2 separate regions of the Homo sapiens genome follow, and region 2 is linked to region 1. Evidence: promoter capture Hi-C in human tissues and cell types (Jung and others, 2019). All regions are on one chromosome and are shown on one strand. Each heading gives the region's core, a stretch centred on a gene start or on the middle of the fragment in contact. The rest is flanking DNA. Distances are from core to core; before and after follow the strand shown.

What was found. Contacts are between HindIII fragments. The study calls those that stand out against the background at their distance.
Region 2: a fragment that was not itself captured here is called in contact with the fragment with the promoter of NCEH1 in region 1 in 1 of the 25 tissues and cell types used here (neural progenitor cells).

Annotation. Positions count from the first base shown.
Region 1 is chr3:172,709,530-172,713,495 of GRCh38, forward strand. NCEH1 (neutral cholesterol ester hydrolase 1) reads right to left here and starts at 1,538. Exons shown (of 5, transcript NM_020792.6): 1 at 1,318-1,538. The coding sequence starts at 1,455. RefSeq lists enhancers at 990-2,189, 1,319-1,588, 1,510-1,804, 1,849-1,988. The HindIII fragment of the contact is 21,212 bases long and covers 1-3,966 here.
Region 2 is chr3:172,756,959-172,760,889 of GRCh38, forward strand. ECT2 (epithelial cell transforming 2) reads left to right here. Exons shown (of 25, transcript NM_001258315.2): 5 at 25-207; 6 at 2,022-2,111; 7 at 3,198-3,305. Among named protein-coding and RNA genes, the nearest start is that of ECT2, 8.2 kb to the left of the region's middle. The HindIII fragment of the contact is 4,962 bases long and covers 8-3,931 here.

The DNA.
Region 1 (3,966 bases), core at 288-2,787:
GGCAGGGGTCTATAGCTTCATAGACCTTTCCTAAGAGACAAAAGGGGCTTTGGAGGTGAGAATGTGGCTGAATTCAGGAAAAGCAAATCCACGCTAGGAATGTGCTGCAATATCCTAGTAAGGGGACTTTTCATAGGATAAAGCCCCACAGATTATGTAATCCTACACATAATGAGTGGACAGGGAACAGGAACATAAACCCTCTGGGAAAATCATGACTTTTTTAAAATCAGCTTTCTCAGGTTGAAATGATTTTTTTTCTCTTTCTCTAGTTGTCATTTCTGAAAGAAAGAGTTTATAAAAATATTCTGAGATTAAAGCCCAAGGTTGTGGGGAGGGAGGAGGCTTGGTTTTGGAGAAGGTTAGAGTTTAGATAGAGCAGGCTGCTCAGAAATACTGTCCAATCAGAGGGCTCAGCCTTGGCTGCAGACTGTAGTTTAGATTTTAGATTCTCTGACACTAAAAATAATGCCTCTTACCATGGAATAAACCAGAGACAGTTATATTTTCCTGTGTATGGAAGGAATGAACACACGCCCATGATACAGTGGAGAGAAATGTTACCCTCCCAGGTTAAGGCAGGTAACCTCGCTCAGGAAAAGGTTATCTGACAGCCAAGGACATAAAATAAATGCTGCAGGGCAAGCAGAAAACATGCATCATGCAAACCAGGGCTGCCGCCTCCTCACCTCCTTTCAGCCAGCCCAGCCTCCCAGTCCTCTTTCTTGGGCTGAGCTGAGATCTGCCTCGGGTGAAACGAGAGATCCCTATGGTTCCTCAAGTGCTTGGATGGAGAGCCCTGCCTGCTGTCTCCGGGAACGGAGCGCTCCACAGCCTGGGGACATTGCGAGACTGCCCTTGCCTGCTTCTGCTTCTAAGGTGGCTGCATTCCCAGGAACCAGAGCCTGCTTTTCCCGAGCTCTCCTAAAAATATTTATCCTCTGCCGGTCCCTATGGGAGAACGACAGTGTGAAGAAGGGTGGTTTATAAACTGCTTAAGGATTTGCCTTTTGACGTTGCAAACCAAGGAAGAGGAAGATATTTAGGACAGACGAAGGTTTAAACAGTTGTCAAATTCTATTCAAGCACTTCTTCCCCGTCACAAACGCAGACGGGGAAATGCAGATCTAGCCCGCTGCTAGCAAGGAGGCGAATGCGATACCCTGAAAATTCCCGACTGGACCACCTCAAAAAGCGACAGCCTCAATGCATTAGGAAAAACCTGCGTTTTCGTGGAACCCGGCGGAGGAATTTTGTATCCCCTTCAAATATTGCGTAAGAGGAGGAAGAGAGAAGCAGCGCTGGGCTGCACCTCACCACTTGCTGTGCACCCCGGAAAGTGGCGTCCAGCAGCATCAGCTTCCAGGGGTCGGACACGGAGCCAGGCAGCGGGATGTAGACGTAATAGGCGGCCAGCGCCACCAGGGCGGTGAGCAGGACACAGGACGACCTCATCTTGCCCTGGCTCGGCTCGCCAGCGGGCTGGCAAAGAGGAAAGGGCGATACCACCCGGAGACCTCCGGCAACTTTCTGCCCGCGGCAGCTGCTCATTCACGCGTTTCTTATAAGCCCAGGAGCCAATCAGAGGCTGCGTCGGGAGGAAGTTGGAGCGCGGACATGCCCCCTCTACGGTGTCCTTGCAAAGTGTGGCAGTCACTACAGGTTTGAGGAAGGCTCTGTCGCTGCTCTGGCCGTAGGCACAGCGGACTCTGGAGGACACTGGTTTGTACTGCATGCGTGTGAGGATGGCTTTCCTCCTGGAAGGTCTCAAACGGAAAATAGTTTCAGTGTGACGAGTCTCTGGACAAAGCAAGTGGGTCATTCTGACTCAGAGTACTGAGAAAGGATATAAAAATTCTGTTTTCTGGAGCCAGACTTGGAGTGGTTTGTAAGTTCTAGCTGATATATGGCAAAAGAAGATATTAAATTCTTCTGGCTCAAGCAATGAAAGGCCAGTAGTACATCTAGCACCCAAGTCTTGGTTTCTAAATCCTATGCTCCAATAAGAGGAACCACGGCTTTTTGACACAACCTCTGGAGAAAAGGCTGATACCAGGGCTGGGGCTGTAAAGTACAAGATGAACCTGTTGTGCCAGAGATGCGGAAGTGCTCAAAAAATGATAGGAACTGGTCAAAGGTCCACAGCTGCCAGCTTGAAGGGTCTCCCAGTGGCTGAAGCTGGGATAATTTTACCATCAATATAAATCATCATAATGGATAACCCATTGATTAAAATAAAACTCAACAATCTATATTAATATAAATAAATGAGGAAAGAAGAAAGGCTTTTCTTAAAATAGAATGCCAGCTAGTATCCATAGAAAATCATAAATGAATGCTAAAACTAGAGGGTAAAAATTTGACACAGAATTTTGGTCCTTCATCAGAAGATCTCTCCACAAATTACTACAAAGGGAAAAAATAATAACTTTTTATTGGAGAAACGTGTGGATATCACCTGAAAAATTCTTTCAGTGAGTCAATGGTAGCAGAAATACACTTAAACCCAGATTTCTTGTTAATGATTGGGGGTGAGGAGGGGTGGGTGAGTACTGAATGGGAGAGAGAAAACTTCACTAGCAAAATTTCAACCAGAAATCCAGAAGGAAAACAGTTAGAAGACCTGTTTCAAGAAAGTGGTAGGATGACAACTCCAAACTTATTGATGAAGGTCTTAAAACACCTAGTATATATAATTATGCATCTTAAGATGGTAATTTTAATTTAATCAAATTAATAGAAGTGAAATAACCATAAATTTGGTTCTGATAATGAGATTTTTAGGAAACAGTTGGCTTCTTCTTCAACATTGAAGGAAAACTGATAAGAAGGGCACACTTTCATGGTATTTCAAGCAAGTTCTCTCTCTCTTTTTTTTTTGTTTTGTTTGTTTTTGGTGTTTGTTTTTTGTTTTTTTTGAGACGGAGTCTTGCTCTTTTCGCCCAGGCTAGAGTGCAATGGCACGATCTCAGCTCACTGCAACCTCCACCTCCTGGGTTCAAGCAATTCTCTTGCCTCAGCCTCCTCAGTAGGTGGGATTACAGGTGCCCACCACCACACCTGGCTGATTTTTGTATTTTTAGTAGAGATGGGGTTTCACCATGCTGGCCAGGCTGGTCTCAAACTCCTGACCTTGTGATCTGCCCACCTCAGTCTCCCAAAGTGCTGGGATTACAGGCATGATCCACGGCACCTGGCCTCTCTCTCTCTCTCTCTCTCTCTCTCTCTCTCTCTCTCTCTCTCTCTCTGTCTTTTAAGTTACTGGTTAAACTCATAACTCTAAACAGATAGGAATGTTTATGTTTATGTTTGTGTGTGAGTATATGTGTAGAAAATTAGAAGCTATTCTTTTTTTTTTTGAGATAGAGCATCGCTCTTGTCACCCAGGCTGGAGTGCAATGGTGCAATCTTGGCTCACTGCAACCTCTGCCTCCCGGGTTCAAGCCATTCTGCCTCAGCCTCCCGAGTAGCTGGGATTTCAGATGCCTGCCACTAAGCCCAGCTAATTTTGTATTTTTAGTAGAGACAGGGTTTCACCGTGTTGGCCAGGCTGGTCTTGAACTCCTGACTTCAGGTGATCCACCTGCCTCAGCCTCCAAAAGTGCTGGGATTACAGGTGTGAACTACCACGCCCAGCCAGAAGCTAATCTTTATGGGTGATTAGGAATAATCCTGGAGATATAAACCAAGCTGACTACTGGATTTAGTTACATTACTTGCTTTCAGGAAATCTGCAAAATAAATCCAAGTTTTACCTTGTCGACAATACTTTTCTCTTAGATTTTGACTATATGTTCATAAAAACATAGATCTTAGAGCTAATGACAAAACCAAACCGAACCAAAAACAAACAAGCAAACAAATCCAAAAATCCCCACACCTAACTCAGCCTTCCCTCTTCCACCAGCAGTTAACACACTCGGTGTTATAGATGAGCCTCTTGAGGATTAGCGCAGCCAAATGGCT
Region 2 (3,931 bases), core at 1,239-3,738, 48 kb after region 1:
TTCTGCTAACTATATGATGAAAAGGACATTAAAGTGGGCTTTGTAAAGATGGAGTCAGTGGAAGAATTTGAAGGTTTGGATTCTCCGGAATTTGAAAATGTATTTGTAGTCACGGACTTTCAGGATTCTGTCTTTAATGACCTCTACAAGGCTGATTGTAGAGTTATTGGACCACCAGTTGTATTAAATTGTTCACAAAAAGGAGAGGTAAGCATATACATTTATTATGACTTTTCAAGTTAAAATTTTTATTAATGAATTTTAATTAGCAAAAAATTTATTTGGAAAAATCTCATTGATTGCTGAGAGCAAAATATTTAGAATAGGAATAATAGTGGCTATTCTAATGTGGTCCTTTAATTCCTCCATTTTAAACTTAGTGGTGAAAAGCTAAGGCCTTTGAAAGTTAAATAATGATAACTGTACATATGCATATACACAGACAAATACATAGTCCTTTTTTTTTTTTTTTTTTTGAGACGGAGTCTTGCTCTGTGCCCAGGCTGGAGTGCAGTGGCACGATCTCAGCTCACTGCAAGCTCCGCCTCCTGGGTTCACGCCATTCTCCTGCCTCAGCCTCCCCAGTAGCTGGGACTACAGGTGCCCGCCACCATGCTCAGCTACTTTGTTGTATTTTTAGTAGAGATGGCGTTTCACCATGTTAGCCAGGATGGTCTTGATCTCCTGACCTCGTGATCCACCCGCTTCGGACTCTCAAAGTTCTGGGATTACAGGCGTGAGCCACTGCGCCTGGCGTATACACTATCAATACCACAATGTCTTAGAGAAGATTACTTGCTTAAACTTGGGTTCCAGAAATTCATACATATACATAAACTTTTATTTTTCTCAACACAGAACAGATACCACGGTTCCATTTTTATCAGTTACTGTATAACTTAAAATTCAAAAATTATTTTAGCTTTTTGTATTTATTTATTTATTTAATAAATAAATACACGATCTCTGCTCACTGCAACCTCTGCTTTCCCGGGTTCAAGCGATTCTACTGCCTCAGCCTCTCAAGTAGCTGGGACTGCAGGTGCATGCCACCACGCCTGGCTAAGTTTTTTCTATTTTTAGTAGAGACAGGATTTCACCATGTTGGCCAGGCTGGTCTCGAACTCTTGACCTCACGTTATCTTCCTGCCTCTGCCTCCCAAAGTGTTGAGATTACAGGCATGAGCCACCGTGCCCCGCTTCTTTTTGTTTTTAAACAGCATTTCAATATGAGTCGTATGAGAGTTAGTCCCTATTTGGTTTTGTTGCTGTCTTGGCATTCTTAAGCTTGCCTTGTTTACTTAAAATTGCTTAGGTCTTTGTACTTCTATTGTTACACATGTTAGTAATAATAAGCACATGTTAACCTTTAATTCTCTTACATTTTGATTTGGAGTGGTTGGTTTCAAAACCCAAATAAACTTTAAAAGGCCAAATTTTGAAAAATAATCTTATATAATGATGAAAATCAAATTTATTCTTTTATTATTTTTAAACCGTTCTCTTTTATACACACACACACACACAGACACACACACACACAACCGTTGGGTAAATTATTTACTGAATATCACCATTTATTAGCTTAAAGATTAGAATTATATTTGGTTTAAGTGTGTGTATTATATTTACTCAGTGTTTATTATAAAATGCCTCTGACCTGTTTTAATGACATTAATTAGAATCATCTATAGTAGTGTATGGAGTCTGAAAACTTTGCTTATAGTCAGTACTTCATGTCTGTCAGAGTGCATTTAATATTTGTTTAATTTGCTGAGAGTAAAGTGTGTTTAGATTATGTATATTGCATATGATTAAGGAATCGGGAAATATTTTTATTGGGAAACTTGCAATCTGTCGTTTTGCTGTTTTTTTGTTGCATATTGAAAAAATGCCAGTAAATCTTTGGATTGGGAAAGTTGAATGGCAAGAGGGGAAATGAAATATATTTAGCTTGAGAAAGTTGTGTTGTATTTTCTACTAAAGAGAAAGCTCACATTTAAAATTGTTGTATCCTTCAGCCTTTGCCATTTTCATGTCGCCCGTTGTATTGTACAAGTATGATGAATCTAGTACTATGCTTTACTGGATTTAGGAAAAAAGAAGAACTAGTAAGTATTACGAAACAAATTCAAAGCGTATTTTTTACAGCAAAATAAATTAAAATTGGCTTTTTTTTCTTTTTAGTATTATGGTTTTATTTTTAAAATATTGAAGGATAACTTATTATGGCTATACCAGATTTTAAATTTTCTGAAGAAACAAATCCTGAAGAGCCTTATAAAGAGACCAGTGTTTTGTCTAGGCTGGCTGATGTGAATTAATAGAAAGATTTCATAGCAATTCTGTTTGACTGTCTTGTTACCATATTGGCTACGTTGGTTATTTAAAGTTTTTGTTTATACATTGCAATTTCTTATTATGCAAGTTCAGCCTGAAAGTATTCTGTTGCCCTATAGAATTCATAGAAAGTTCCTTTTTTATTTTTATTTTATTTTTTTTGAGACAAGTCTTGCTCTGTCACCCAGGCTGGAGTGCAGTGGCGCAATCTCGGCTCACTGCAAACTCCGCTTCCCAGGTTCACACCATTCTCTTGCCTCAGCCTCCCGAGGAGCTGGGACTACAGGCGCCCGCCACCACGCCTGGCTAATTTTTTTTTGTATTTTTAGTAGAGATGGGGTTTCACCGTGTTAGCCAGGATGGTCTTGATCTCCTGACCTCGTGATCCGCTTGCCTCGGCCTCCCAAAGTGCTGGGATTACATGCGTGAGCCACCGCGCCCGGCCAGAAAGTTCTTTCTTTGGTTCACAATACTTTGTTGTTGGAACTGATGGGTATTACTCTGATTTTGTGGGAACAGTCTTGATGTGATAAAACTTGGTATTTTTTTAAAAAAACCAATATATTTACACAGTATGGTATTAAAAAGCAATATATTTAGGCCATAGGAAAGGCGGTTGTTTAACTTACATTTGTGTGAAATCTTTACTAATCCCACCTCTATAATTTTGCCTGTGTTAATAGGCAAACTAATCTTTTTTATACTTACTTTGACATAAAATTTAATAGCTTTATAAAAATCCCGTATGTATTTTATAAATAGAAAGTATTTAGCAAATGCTAAATGTGGGGTAAACATAGTTTAAAATTTTGTTCAAATTAACCATAAAGTCAGTGTTGCTTAATTTTTCTTTTGAGGTCAGGTTGGTGACATTGGTCCATCACATGGGTGGAGTTATTCGAAAAGACTTTAATTCAAAAGTTACACATTTGGTGGCAAATTGTACACAAGGAGAAAAATTCAGGGTATGTAAACTTGGGTATTTTTGTGTATTTCAATACAGCATTATTTTGGCATGGGTTTAATAATAGCAGTCTTTTATCTATTTCTTTCACAATTAAAGAAGAGAAACTCAATTTTTGCTATGAATATATTTAGTAAAAAATTTTAAATCATAAGAGTGGTTAAATTTTCTTTCTTTTCTTTTCTTTTCTTTTTTTTTAAATAGAGATGGGGTGTTGCTCTGTTACCCAGGCTGCTTTCGAACTCCTGGGCTTAAGTGATCCTCCTGCCTTGGCCTCCCAAAGTGTTGAGATTACATACGTGAGCCACCAGGCCTGGCCGAGTGGTTAAGTTTTAAGTAGGCAATGGAACTTGAGTGAGGTGTTGAAAGATGACTAGGATCGTGGGGGTTGGTAGATGAATAACATTGTAGGAATTGTGAAAGTAGGGAATTTACTCTTGTCTAAGTGCCTTTTTTTTTTTTTTTTTTTTTTTTTTGAGACTGAGTCTCTCTCTGTCACCCAGGCTGGAGTGCAGTGGTGCCATCTCGGCTCACTGCAAGCTCCGCCTCCTGGGTTCACGCCATTCTCCTGCCTCAGCCTCCCGAGTAGCTGGGACTACAGGTGCGCACCACCATGCCCGGCTAATT